3 separate regions of the Homo sapiens genome follow, and regions 1 and 3 are each linked to region 2. The links are contacts of gene promoters, found by promoter capture Hi-C in blood cells and fetal thymus (Javierre and others, 2016). All regions are on one chromosome and are shown on one strand. The core of a region is centred on a gene start or on the middle of the fragment in contact, and the rest is flanking DNA. Distances in the headings are between cores, read along the strand shown.

Region 1 (3,859 bases), core at 442-2,941, 3.1 Mb after region 2:
CCCTACAAATGGCAATCATTTGTGTAAGCAACAAACATTTAAAGAGGGCTCATTGCTCCTTAGATTAAATAAGTAACGGGCCCATCTTGAAGAAACTCAAAGCTTAAAGAGGGAGACAGTGATGTAAACAAAAAATTACAATACAACGGGACAAATGTGATAATGGCCATACAGAAAGTAGCCTGGGAAAGGAAAGGAAATACCAAATTGAGGGTGATGGTGAAGGGAAGGTAGTGCAGGACTGATATGGTTTGGATTTGTGTCCCTGCCCAAATCTCATGTCAAACTGTATGTAATCCCCATTGTTGGAGGAGAGGCCTGGTGGGAGGTGATTGGATCATGGAAATGGAGTTCTCATGAATGGTTTAGCACTATCCCTCCTTGGTACTGTTTTACGGAAGTAAAACTTTAGGTAAATGCTGTGGCAGCAGTAAGAGCTGCTCCTCCGTGTGAGTCACAAGGCTTGGAAAAGAGAGTTGAAGGATGTAGCACTTGCCTGGCACCTAGTAGGGACTCTACCTGACTCAGCCCAACCAGGGTGGATAGGAGGGAATGGCATGGAGGAGCCTGATCAGCCAGCAAGCAGGAGCCTGATCAGCAACGACCTAAGGTGTCCTGGTCCGTTATCTGGCAGGCAACTGGGTGGAAGGTCATCCACTGAGATATGAAACCCAGAAGGAAGAGTCGGTCTATGGGGGATCACACTTTTAATGAGGGATACCATCACATAGTTAACATTTACTGACGACTGATTTCAGGCATAGTGCTAATCACCTTACTTTACTATTTTGTTTAATCCTCACAACACTCTTACGAAGCTAAGTTGTACCATTATCTCCATTTTGCAATTTAAAAAGAAACAATGAGATTCAGGGACTGATTGTTTGACCAGTTACTAAACGTGATTTGCACCAGAGCCCAAGTTGATCATCTATCTACCAAGCTCTGCTGAGTTTGAGCTGCCTGCAGAATTCCACCTGGATGTGTCCACAGGCCGGACCACAAGCTGGGAAGTGTGGGCAGAGACATTCACTTAGGGGTCACTTCTTATGGGGGGCACGGCAGGATCAAAGCTGTTGGGCCTGGATGAGATGGCTCAGGAAACTCTGAAAAGGAAGACGGCAAGAGGACCTGGGGAACACTAACCTTAAACAGGCGGAAAGAGGAAAAGAAACCAGCGAATGAGTTTGAGAAGCTGCCCTCTGAGAAAGCGAACTCTTAAAAATGTCCTTCAGTGAATCTTTTTCAAATGCCCCTAGACCAATGCCTGGCACTCGATAAAGGACCTCTGGAGTCAGAAGGGGCGTTCTGTCAAGGGGGTGGGGGGACTTTATGCCTAATTTTTCCAGCTCCTAAAGGACCAAGCCATATGAAACCCACAGGGAGACCTCGATACCTGGGAGGCAAGTCTGAGACAAGAATAGGGTCAAGGACCATAGCCAAACCCTCCTCAGAACACAAGAACTCTTTCCCCCATTCGACAGGGCAGCGGCGGATGTGAGCGCCACTCACAGCTGCCCGCTCTGATAAGAGGTTACTGCGGAAACGACCAGGAGGGAACGGGCGAGGATCCAAGCCGCTCACGGACTGGGGTCGCCTCGGTCCGAGAGGGGGAGCGCGCGCCCTGACACGCAGGCATGCGCGCGCCTGTGGGAAGTCGGGGAGCGCGCCTGGGCCCCTGCCCGTCGCCCGGCTCTCCCCTCGTTGCAGCCTCGCTCTCCCTAGAGCTCCTTCTCCCCTCCCAGTGGTTTCCCTCCGCAGCTGTGGGCCTCCGCTGGCCCACGCGGACGCCCCGCGACCCCCGCAGCCTGGCGGGCAGCGCGTCACGGGAGCGGACCAGAACACAGCCCGCTCCGCCCCATCGCCCGCGGCCCCGCCCCCTCTGGCCGACAAGGGGCGGGCACCACCGGAGTGGGCTCCGTGGGTGCTGGGGCAGGAGTTTCCTCACTCCCCGCCTGGCCGTCGCTCCTCCGCTGACTCCGCGCCCTTCTACGGGCCGTCTCCCACCCTCTGAGCGGACGCAGGGAGTCGATGCCGGGCGAACCGGGCGCCATGAAGGGCAGCTGCCTAACGGGCGCCGCGGCGGAGGGGCTGGCCGGCTGAGGGCCCGCGCTGGGCCGAGGCATGCGGAGCCCGGGCGGGATCCTGCTCCAGGCGCTGCCCCGGCTGCTGCAGCACGCCGCCCTCCCGGGCCTCGCCGAGCTGCCGGCCCGCTGGGCCCTGCCGCGGGGTGCGGGCGGGGACGGCCCGGCGGACCGCCTTCCCCGCGGGGGCGGGGCGAGCGCGGCGGCGGCAGCAGCGGCGGCCTCGGGCGCCCTGCTCGGCGCCTATCTGGAGCGCCACGGTCCGCCCGAGGCTTCGGAGCTGCCGGAGCCGGGCGGGGCCTTGGCGGGCGGCCCCGGGAGTGGCGGCGGCGGCGTGGTGGTCGGCGTGGCTGAGGTGAGAAACTGGCGCTGCTGCTGCCTCGGCAGCACCTGTTGGTGCCGGAGCCTCGTGCTGGTCTGCGTGTTGGCCGCCCTGTGCTTCGCTTCCCTGGCCCTGGTCCGCCGCTACCTTCACCACCTCCTGCTGTGGGTGGAGAGCCTTGACTCGCTGCTGGGGGTCCTGCTCTTCGTCGTGGGCTTCATCGTGGTCTCTTTCCCCTGCGGCTGGGGCTACATCGTGCTCAACGTGGCCGCTGGCTACCTGTACGGCTTCGTGCTGGGCATGGGTCTGATGATGGTGGGCGTCCTCATCGGCACCTTCATCGCCCATGTGGTCTGCAAGCGGCTCCTCACCGCCTGGGTGGCCGCCAGGATCCAGAGCAGCGAGAAGCTGAGCGCGGTTATTCGCGTAGTGGAGGGAGGAAGCGGCCTGAAAGTGGTGGCGCTGGCCAGACTGACACCCATACCTTTTGGGCTTCAGAATGCAGTGTTTTCGGTAAGTGGGGTCCCGCTGGCCTATCCCTCTCCAAGTCTGTTTTTGAGCGGTCTTGTGGCGGCCCTAGGAGGGCGCTCTATCAGATAAATACCAGCAGAGAAGTGACATTGACGGCAGGAGTTACGATTACTTTCCATCGCAGCCTGGGAAGTCTGTCCTACACATAAAACATACCTAACGCGGAGCCTCGAAAGAGAGTTTGTTAGATAAAAAACTAATGTTTCTTTTAGGGATGGGAATGTAATTAAAAATGAAAAGCCCTCTTAACAATAGGCATGCAGGGACATGAATGGAAATGCCCATCTTTAATACTTGTCATCTTTTGTAGCAGCTTTGGCAACATTTAGGGAGGAAAGCTTTCTCTCTTGCTTACATAAATACATCCAGGGTTTTGATTCAAGTTTTTAGCGACATGGACCAAAGGAAGTGTTTCAGTAAACAGTGGAGGAGCTAGTTGCAGACTCCAGATTTTGGAGTTTGCTAAATTTGAAATGGGCTTTTTCTTCTTCAAGTAATTGTGCTTTAATGTGATGTAAAGAAGAAAATCCTACTGTTTATCTTTCTTTCTTTGGAGGAACTTCATTTCGAAATCACGGGGTGGTGAATAAAACAGAACAGATAATCTTTTGCTCAGTTAGCATATATTTTTCTTCTGTATCTGCACCATTATAGACTCTTTTCTGTCCTTGTATTCATATGTTTTGCTTACTCAGGTTTCTATAGCTAGTGTGCATCTCCATGCAACTGATTTAGGATAGAAACACTGCTAGTGAAGAGATCATCTTATTGGAAGAAAGGAATCTGGTCTTTACAAACTTTGTGACTTTGGATCAAGTTACTGACCCTGTCTGGCTTCACTTTTCTCTTTTCGAAAGTGAAGGACTTAAAAAAGTAGATTACCATGTTCCCCAAATTCAGTGATTCTAAACTACCAAGAGTT
Region 2 (4,115 bases), core at 389-2,888:
CGAACATCTAAGGCAGTAAAATTACCTTTTCTGTGGTATTCTAGGGTCTACAGGAGCTTTTTTATTTTTGTTTTGAGATGGAGTTTCACTCTTTTGACCTGGCTGGAGTGCAGCGGTGCGATCTCGGCTCACTACAGCCTCCATCTCTCGGGTTCAAGCGATTCTCCTGCCTCAGCCTCCCGAGTAGCTGGGATTACAGGCGCCCGCCACCATGCCAGGCTGACTTTTTTGTATTTTTAGTAGAGACGGGGGTTTCGCTTTTTGGGCGGGCTGGTCTCGAACTACTGACCTCAAGTGATTCGCCCGCTTCGGCCTCCCAAAGTGCTGGGATTACAGACGTGAGCCACCGTGCCCGGCCACAGGAGCTTTTTAGAAGATGTTTTACGCCACACAGTAATGCAACACTGAAAAGACAAGTCGCCTTTTCTCTGCTTTTGCATCTCTTTCCTTAACTTCTGGAAATCTTTAAAGTTTGTCCGCCGTACTTCGACAGTTGTCTACCGAAGATTCTCAGCACATCTACCGGCTGAGCCCTGAATGTGTCTCTGAATTTCTCCCGTTGAAAGTCGAGGTCCCTGGGCTGGGCAGAATCTGGGCATGCGCAGAAGCTCAGCCAACCCCGGGGCTCCGCCTCCCCTCCTCTAGCGAGGGGAAACGGGTGAGCGGCAGCGCGCGTGCGCAAGCTTGGTGGTGGGTTGCGCCTGCAGAGCGCATGGGCAGATAAACCGTACGTCCGTTTGTCCGGACCGGAGGGGCAGTGGGCGCCATCTTCTTCTGGGCTCACTGAGGGTCTACCTGTTTTGGGGAGGCTGCTGCGACGAAGAGTTCCCTCAGCCTCCGGCCTTGTGTGTCCGACTCGGCAGCAGTGGTGTGTGTTTATTGCCAAGTGCGAAGCAGTTCCCCTCGGGGCGCCGGGGGTGGGGAGGGCTGGGCGACCAAGCCGGAAGAACGGGGAAAGGCGGGACCGGCGGCCGCGCCAGTATCTAGCGTAGCTCCTGCCGTTAGGGCACCCTCTTTTCTTGCTAAAACACCGACTCTTCCTTTCCCGTCAGCTTCCATGTGGTGGTGTATGTGCGCTTCCCAGGGATCTTGAGAGTGAAGATCTCGAAGGATTTCATAGGTATATTTTTTTCTTTGCTATGTCATCGTAGTCAGTGGTGGCAGAAAAGCGCTGCAGGCCCAGCTCGTTAGGCTTGAGAAGGGCAAGTGTTTTCAGTTAGATCTGGGGGCAGTTCACCCTCTGGCGAGTTAGGGTGGAATGTTTGCCCTTGAGACGGCGTAACGGAAAGGCACGGAGGTTGGGCGGTCCAGGTTAATTTGAAGGCTGATTTTGGCTGAAAGTCTGGCGACAACATCGGATCCCACGTAGCAACTTTGGCCTGGCGCGAAAGAAGGAAGCTCTGACCCCTGGGAGTTGTGGACAAAGGCTTTGGGCTGTAGAATCGATGCCTTCGGATGATTCCCGTTTGAGGATGTTGGGAGAAATCCTGTGCCATGTGGATTCGTCTTCATTTACAGTTCTTCCTAGGGACTGTGGCTCTCATTGGTCATTCCTTTGGTTTTTATTTTAAACATCTACATTATAAAAGGTGGATCATCGTAAAGAATAATTATGGGTTGGTGTAGATTATTTTCTGCAGGGGAAACTCACGTTTAGAGTGTGAATATGCTACATCATGACCTTGGGCTTTACGAAGTAGTCGCAGAGTTAAAAAAAATTCTCTCCCTCACCATATCTGGAAAATGACTTTTTCTTCGCTAGTTAAAAATCAAATGGATCTGATGAGATATTACTTATTTAAATTCTGTCTCCCTCCCGTTTCCCTCTCTGTATCCCCTTAAGTCTTGATTAGAAGAGGCACGTTACGTATTGTTTAGTTATAATGGTGATTAAGTGGGATGAATCGTTGGATAAAAATAGCAGTTATTTAAAATGCGCTTTAAATTTCACTGACTTAAGTGATCTTTTAGGGACCCACTCTTCTTTTCATAGAAATTTTAACAGATTATTGTCTTCAAATGAACACAAAGGCACAAAAATACTTTTTGCATTCATAACTAGAAAAACGCAAAATTTTAATTGCAGACTACTTGAGGGTAATTTTCGTGTTTTGCTTTTGTGTAATTTAGTGTGTTAAGAGTTGAATTTCTGGAGAATTTGCTTAAGGAAATATAGCATGTTGGAACCACAGAAGTGCCCATTTTGAGAGCTGGTCTCTTACAGTTGGTCTCCAAGGTGTGTTATTGTAGAGGCATAAATGGTACATTACCCTACTGTCTCAAGGGTAGAGAAGTTTAAGCATTAGTTTTGTTTAACTGTGGCAAATGAGAATAAACTTTCTAAATAGTCTGCTTGAATTGGAATTCATGAGATTTGTGCTCATGAAACTACTTGGTTAAAAGATAGTTTTTAAGTGAGGTAGGATAAATTACTAGAGTTTTTTTGAATTTGAGATATAATTATTCCTTGAAACGTCTCTAATTTCTCTTGTAGATGAATTTATGTTCCCAGGGTAAATCCCGTTAAAATTTTTTTAAAAGCTTAGGAGAGACAAGAATATGTATAGCTTATGGTGCTTTCTAAAATATCTTAAAAAGAGTAGCTAAGCCAATTTGCATAGGAGGGAGTCTTGGGACTTTAATATGGATAAAGTAAGTATTCCAGAAGCCATTTGTAGTTTTTGTTGAAGTGTTAGTATGGATATTGGTTTGTTGAAGAAAATAGGCTTTTTTTCTTTTTTTGTTACTGTGCAAATACTTTAATAGCAAACCTGATTAATATTTTTCAGATGTAGAATGTGTGAAGTAATTTGATGTCTTTGCTAGTTTAGCTTCTGGTTAATCTACGTACCCTTTTTTAAAGGAAAACAGACCTCAGTGAATGTATCTTCAGACCCCCACTTTGGGGAACAGTGGTACTTAAGTGTAAGTACTGGATTCTGGATTAACGCAACATTTATTTGTACATTAAAGACATGTAAATTACTCCAGGCGCAGTGGCTCATACCTGTAAATCCTAGCACTGTGGGAGGCTGAGGTGAGCTGATTGCTTGAGCCCATGAGTTCCCTACCAGCCTGGGCAACATGGTGAAACCCTGGCTCTACAAAAAATACAAAAATTAGCCGGGTGTGGTGGTGCACACCTGTAGTCCCAGCTACTGGGGAGGCTGAGGTGGGAGCATTGCCTGAGCCTGGGTAAGTCGAGGCTGTAGTGAGCCAAGATCGCACCAGTGCACTCCAGCCTGGGTAGCAGAGCAAGAGAGACCCTGTCTCCCCCACCAAAGAAAGTGAGTGTAAATTATAATTATTTATTTGGCAAGTCTTCATGAAATAGTTTGGGTATCCCTGAAAGTATTAAACGCAAACTTCTTTAAAAAATTACATTGAGATTTTTCAGTAAACGGGTAATCCCAGTATTCCAAGTTAATTTTTAATTTTACTTTTCTACATCATCATTTGGGTTTCCTTAGTAGAGTGCAGAATAGTTGTTTGAAATGGAAATCTGCTATTGGCATTATTAATAAGATAAATAGCATTTTCTGTTTGGCTTGAGATGAATTGTAACAGTTACTATTTTTGCAATAGGAGTGGTATTGAGATTTTTAACTTTAGGGATATTGTAGTATTTGCCTTAATTATACTGGCTTCATGAAATTTGGTTCTGTGCTTGGATGTATGAGCTGTTTATATAGACCTTTAAATTGTATCCAAACAATAGCCCATAGGTTTGGATTTATTGTTTTAAAAATTGATTTTTGAATTTCAGGCTTTGCTGTTTTATTCATTTATTGTGTAATTTTGAATGGTTGCCTTAATTTGATTTGGTCTTATGTTTTGAAAGGGAGGAGAACAGCACGAGAGTTGGATATAAATATGTACTAGATTTTTGGATTTTCATGTGGCAAAATGATTGAAGTTCTTTTTTTTTTTTTTTTTTTTTTGAACTTTGGGTATTGAGATTTTACTTGTAGAACAGTTTTTTGAAGTAGATGTAAAACTTGTGTACAGCAAAATGTATAGACCCTAAGGATAGAATTCAGTAAACCTTGATAAATTTATACACCCATGTAACTACTGCTGCATTCAAAATATGTAACATTTCCATCACTCCTTTC
Region 3 (4,224 bases), core at 984-3,483, 3.8 Mb after region 2:
TTACTGGCTTCATAAGAAGAGAATATTTCTCTCTCTCTGCTATGTGAGGACACATTGAGAAGGCAGCTATCTGAAAGCTAGGAAGAGGGCCTTTACCAGGAACTGAACTGGCTGGAACCTTCATCTTGGGACTTCCAGCCTCCAGAACTGTGAGAAATAAATATGTTGTTTAAGCCATCAATTCTATGGCATTTTGTTATCGCAGACAAGCAGACTAACACAACCTCTTTTACATTTTTCATTTAAGATTCTGAAAATGTAAGAAAATAATGGATACTGCTTTGAAATACTATGTGAGATTATGTAAAGTCTAAAATGAATTGAGTTTTAAATTTTTATTATACAAAACATTCTTGAAATGTTTTCTACATAATTCTTGTAAGATAGTATAGAGACATGCTTATTCTAAGACTGTACCAGTAATAAAATTTGGCTTGATTTACTGCTACTTGTAATAAACCCATATTTAACTAACTGAACAGCATTAAAGTTCTTCTCAAATAAAAATGTGATAAACATCACATATAACATTATCATAATGCTTAAGAATAAAGTTGGTCTTATCAAGACAAATAATTCACATACACTAAAATGCTAAGAAAAATATACTCACATGCCAAGCCCCACCAGGTGGACCTTTACCAAGAACTACGTGAGGGATATAATGATGTTGCTCTAATTTCCAATGCAAAACGGATGGATAATCATACCCAAAGTCAGCATCTGGATGAAGAAGTGTATCGAAAAGTACTGCAACTGGATTGGATGATCGGCCCTCAAGGCCCTCAGACAAGTATTCTAAGTCCTGAATGAACAAAAGGGAGACAGAGTTTGAAAAAAGCCAGCATTTCCCAGATAGTATATTCTAATGCTTACCATGATGCTCCAATGATAAAAAGCAGTACCCCCAACTTGACCACAGAGCACCTACTAAATCTCCATTAGAAAATAATTCAGAAAACTCTGCTCTAATAAATTCAAGAAAATAAACAGAAGTAACTCAGAATACATTTACGAATCTAAAATAAAAATGATATAAGGTGTTATTTAGAATAAGGGGTTTCAACTAAGAAAGTTCATATAAATAAAAACTAATCTTGTTTCAGCATAAAAAAATTTTTTAAATTGACATGTAAGAAATAATACCTGATCAACAATGGAAAGATGTCTTGCTTCTTCTAATTTACTATTTAAGATTGTATTTGGGTGTATTGCTTCTGATGATAAATACGGTCTGTAGCCTGATAACATATAAGAAAGGCATATTCCTGAGGGTCCATTTCCTATTAAAAATAAAAGGTGGAAAGGGGTAGGTCATGCATCTTAATACTCTTGTTCCTTGGCTTTTGTCCTACTTTGAAGATGGCTCTTTTCTCTGACCAGTTCTTCCTTTTCTAATCTCTTAAAACCAGATGTTTCATGAGATTTTAACCTCTGCCTTCTCTCCTATTTTCTTTTGGGAATCTCATCTACTCAAGGCTTCAACTCTCTAGGCTACTGACATCCAAAATTAGTTCTCTAAATTGACCTATTTCCCAAGGATATATCCCACATTTCCATTCCACTTCTTGATTCTACCTGATAGAATGGCCCACTAATAACTTTAATGTAATGTGCTCAAAAGCAAGCTCATGAGTCCCTTCATTGAGGTGCCCTCTCCTTCAAACCCTATCCTATCTCAAAGTATGGTACTAGCAAACTTCTAAGTTAATCAGTTTCTGGTTCTAAACCTAGTTTGCCCCCTATATCTTGTCAGTTGTCTTTGCTATTCTCATTCCTGTACTTCACCTAAAAGACAAGTCTCCTACTGTTTCTCTGCCCTGAGATTCACCCACTCCCAATCATTTCACATACTACATTCACATAAGTTTTGGTAACATAATCCTCATCATGTTAGCCTTCTGTTCTAAAGGTCTTCATTGTTTGTTTCTGACTATCCAGTGTTCTCCATTTGAAACAACTTTTGCAAAGATTATGACAGTGAGAGAAATCTAACATGGCTGACTCCATCTTGCTTCTAGCTTCAAAGGCCGGCTGTCTTCCCTCACTCCTGGGTATAGGCAAAGCTAATCATGGAAGGAATTTATAGTTTAACCTTAAAGCAAGGATGGTAACAGTCCTTCCCAAAATTAAACCGCCTTTCTAAAACTAATGAAAGGCCACAAGGTTCGGATTATGAGAGGTGCCGGAATTCTGCTAAGATGTAGGCAGAGTTTCTATAATCCTTTACTGCTGAAGAGTCACGCAGCCAGAGGTCACATGATGTGTGACTTCCCTAATTGCTCTTACAGATAACATCGCTACTGTGGATCCTGAGGTTGGCCTTTTGAAATGTCTTTTCAGACTTTTGCATTTCTGATGACTGTCTGACTCTATTGGTCCCAAGATTCAAGACTCAGACCCAAGACTCAACTGAACCAGTCCTGCGGCCCCCCACCCAGAGTTGGACTCAGTGCTAGAGAACCATTTTTGATACCCCCAGCATGGCATCCCCAACCAATCAGCAGCACCTATTCCCTAGTCCCCTGTTCACCCAACTATCCTTGAAAAACCCTAACCTCCAAGCCATCAGGAGGGATCAGGAGTTTTGTTTTTTTCGTTGTGTTTTTTTTTTTCAGACAGAGTCTCGCTGTGTCACCAGGCTGGAGTGCAGTGGCATGATCTCGGCTCACTGCAACCTCTGCCTCCTGGGTTCAAGCGATTCTCCTGCCTCAGCCTCCCAAGTAGCTAGGACTAGAGGTACACGACACCACACCCAGCTTATTTTTGTATTTTTAGTAGAGACGGGGTTTCAGCGTGTTGGCCAGGACAGTCTTGATCTCTTGATCCACCCACCACAGCCTCCCCAAGTGCTGGGATTACAAGTATGAGCCATCACGCCCAACCAATCAGGAGTTTTATCAGGAGACTAATTTGAACAACTGCAGTTCTCTCACATGGGCTGGCCTTGTGTCAACTTCTTTACTGCAACGCCATGGTCTCAGTGAAATGGTTTTGTCTGTGCAGCAGGCAAGAAACTGCCAGGTGATTATACATCTCAACCATCTTTCCAGTCCTAAATCCTGATATTGCTTTCCTATATGTTTATATGCTTTAACTAAAACCAAACTGGATTTCCTGAACTACTTCCATTTATGAATTAATAATTCCTTTATTCTGGATTACCACTTATTATATCTGCCTTTCAAAAATTTAATCCAACCTAGAGAATTGCTAGCTGCAAAGAAAAAATCCTGTTCCTTACCTAATATGTTACCCCAAATAAAATATACTCAAAGATATAAGAAAAGTAAAACCATAAGAATACTAGAAACAGAGAAAGCAGAGAAAGATTTCAACTTATAATTCTAGAATAGGAAGCCTTAAAGACTGAAAGAAAAATAAAAAATATTTAGAACTAATTTTATATCTTTTTTTTTTTTGAGACGGAGTCTCGCTCTGTCGCCCAAGCTGGAGTACAGTGGTGCGATCTCGGCTCATTGCAACCTCTGCCTCACGGGTTCACACCATTCTCCTGCCTCAGCCTCCCGAGAAGCTGGGACTGACTACAGGCACTCGCCACCATGCCTGGCTAATTTTTTGTATTTTTAGTAGAGACAAGGTTTCACCCTGTTAGCCAGGATGGTCTCGATCTCCTGACCTTGTTATATGCCCGCCTCAGCCTCTCAAAGTGCTGGGATTACAGGTGTGAGCTACCAGGCCTGGCCCTCTTTTCTTTTTTTTTTTTTTTTTAGACAGAGTTTCACTTGTCGCCCAAGCTGGAGTACAATGGCGCAATCGCGGCTCACTGCAACCTCCACCTCCTGGGTTCAGGCGATCCTCCTGCCTCAGCCTCCCAAGTAGCTAGGATTACAGTTGCCCGCCACCATGCCCGGCTAATTTTTGTATTTTTAGTAGAGACGGGGTTTCACCATGTTGGCCAGGCTGGTCTCGAACTCCTGTGCTCAGATGATCCAGCCCACCTCAGCCTCCCAAAGTTCTGGGATAACAGGCGTGATCCACTGTGCCCAGAGATGTCCCAGTCCTATCCCCTAGAACCTGTAAATGTTACTACAGAGCAAAAGGACTCTGTAGATATGATTAAGGATCCTGAGATGGAGAGTAGTCTAGATTACCCAGGTAGACCCAATCTAATCACAAGAGTCCTTAAAAATAGAGAACTTTTCCCAGTTGTGGTGAAAGGGAGACATGACAATGAAAGAAGGTTAAGAAACAACATTGCTG

Evidence for each region. The method cuts DNA at HindIII sites, captures the fragments that hold promoters and counts their contacts. A CHiCAGO score of 5 or more calls a contact.
Region 1: a fragment that was not itself captured here is called in contact with the fragment with the promoter of RBM12B-AS1 in region 2 in 3 of 17 cell types (total B cells, erythroblasts and total CD8 T cells); the score reaches 7.7 in total B cells.
Region 3: a contact is called between a fragment that was not itself captured here and the fragment with the promoter of RBM12B-AS1 in region 2, in 1 of 17 cell types (neutrophils). The highest score is 6.1, in neutrophils.

Annotation. Positions count from the first base shown.
Region 1 is chr8:90,644,171-90,648,029 of GRCh38, reverse strand. TMEM64 (transmembrane protein 64) reads left to right here and starts at 1,947. Exons shown (of 3, transcript NM_001008495.4): 1 at 1,947-2,919. The coding sequence starts at 2,125. LOC124906712 (translation initiation factor IF-2) reads right to left here and starts at 1,589. Exons shown (of 2, transcript NR_185471.1): 1 at 1,397-1,589. RefSeq lists silencers at 1,541-1,950, 2,081-2,480 and an enhancer at 2,591-2,920. The HindIII fragment of the contact is 3,173 bases long and covers 105-3,277 here.
Region 2 is chr8:93,737,634-93,741,748 of GRCh38, reverse strand. RBM12B-AS1 (RBM12B antisense RNA 1) reads right to left here and starts at 1,638. Exons shown (of 1, transcript NR_027259.1): 1 at 930-1,638. It overlaps RBM12B (RNA binding motif protein 12B), which reads left to right and starts at 740. Exons shown (of 4, transcript NM_001377960.1): 1 at 740-868; 2 at 1,053-1,120. RBM12B-DT (RBM12B divergent transcript) reads right to left here and starts at 666. Exons shown (of 2, transcript NR_183450.1): 1 at 290-666. RefSeq lists an enhancer at 714-833. The HindIII fragment of the contact is 1,858 bases long and covers 686-2,543 here.
Region 3 is chr8:89,911,136-89,915,359 of GRCh38, reverse strand. OSGIN2 (oxidative stress induced growth inhibitor family member 2) reads right to left here. Exons shown (of 6, transcript NM_001126111.3): 3 at 1,147-1,283; 4 at 614-805. Among named protein-coding and RNA genes, the nearest start is that of OSGIN2, 11 kb to the right of the region's middle. The HindIII fragment of the contact is 5,654 bases long and covers 1-4,224 here.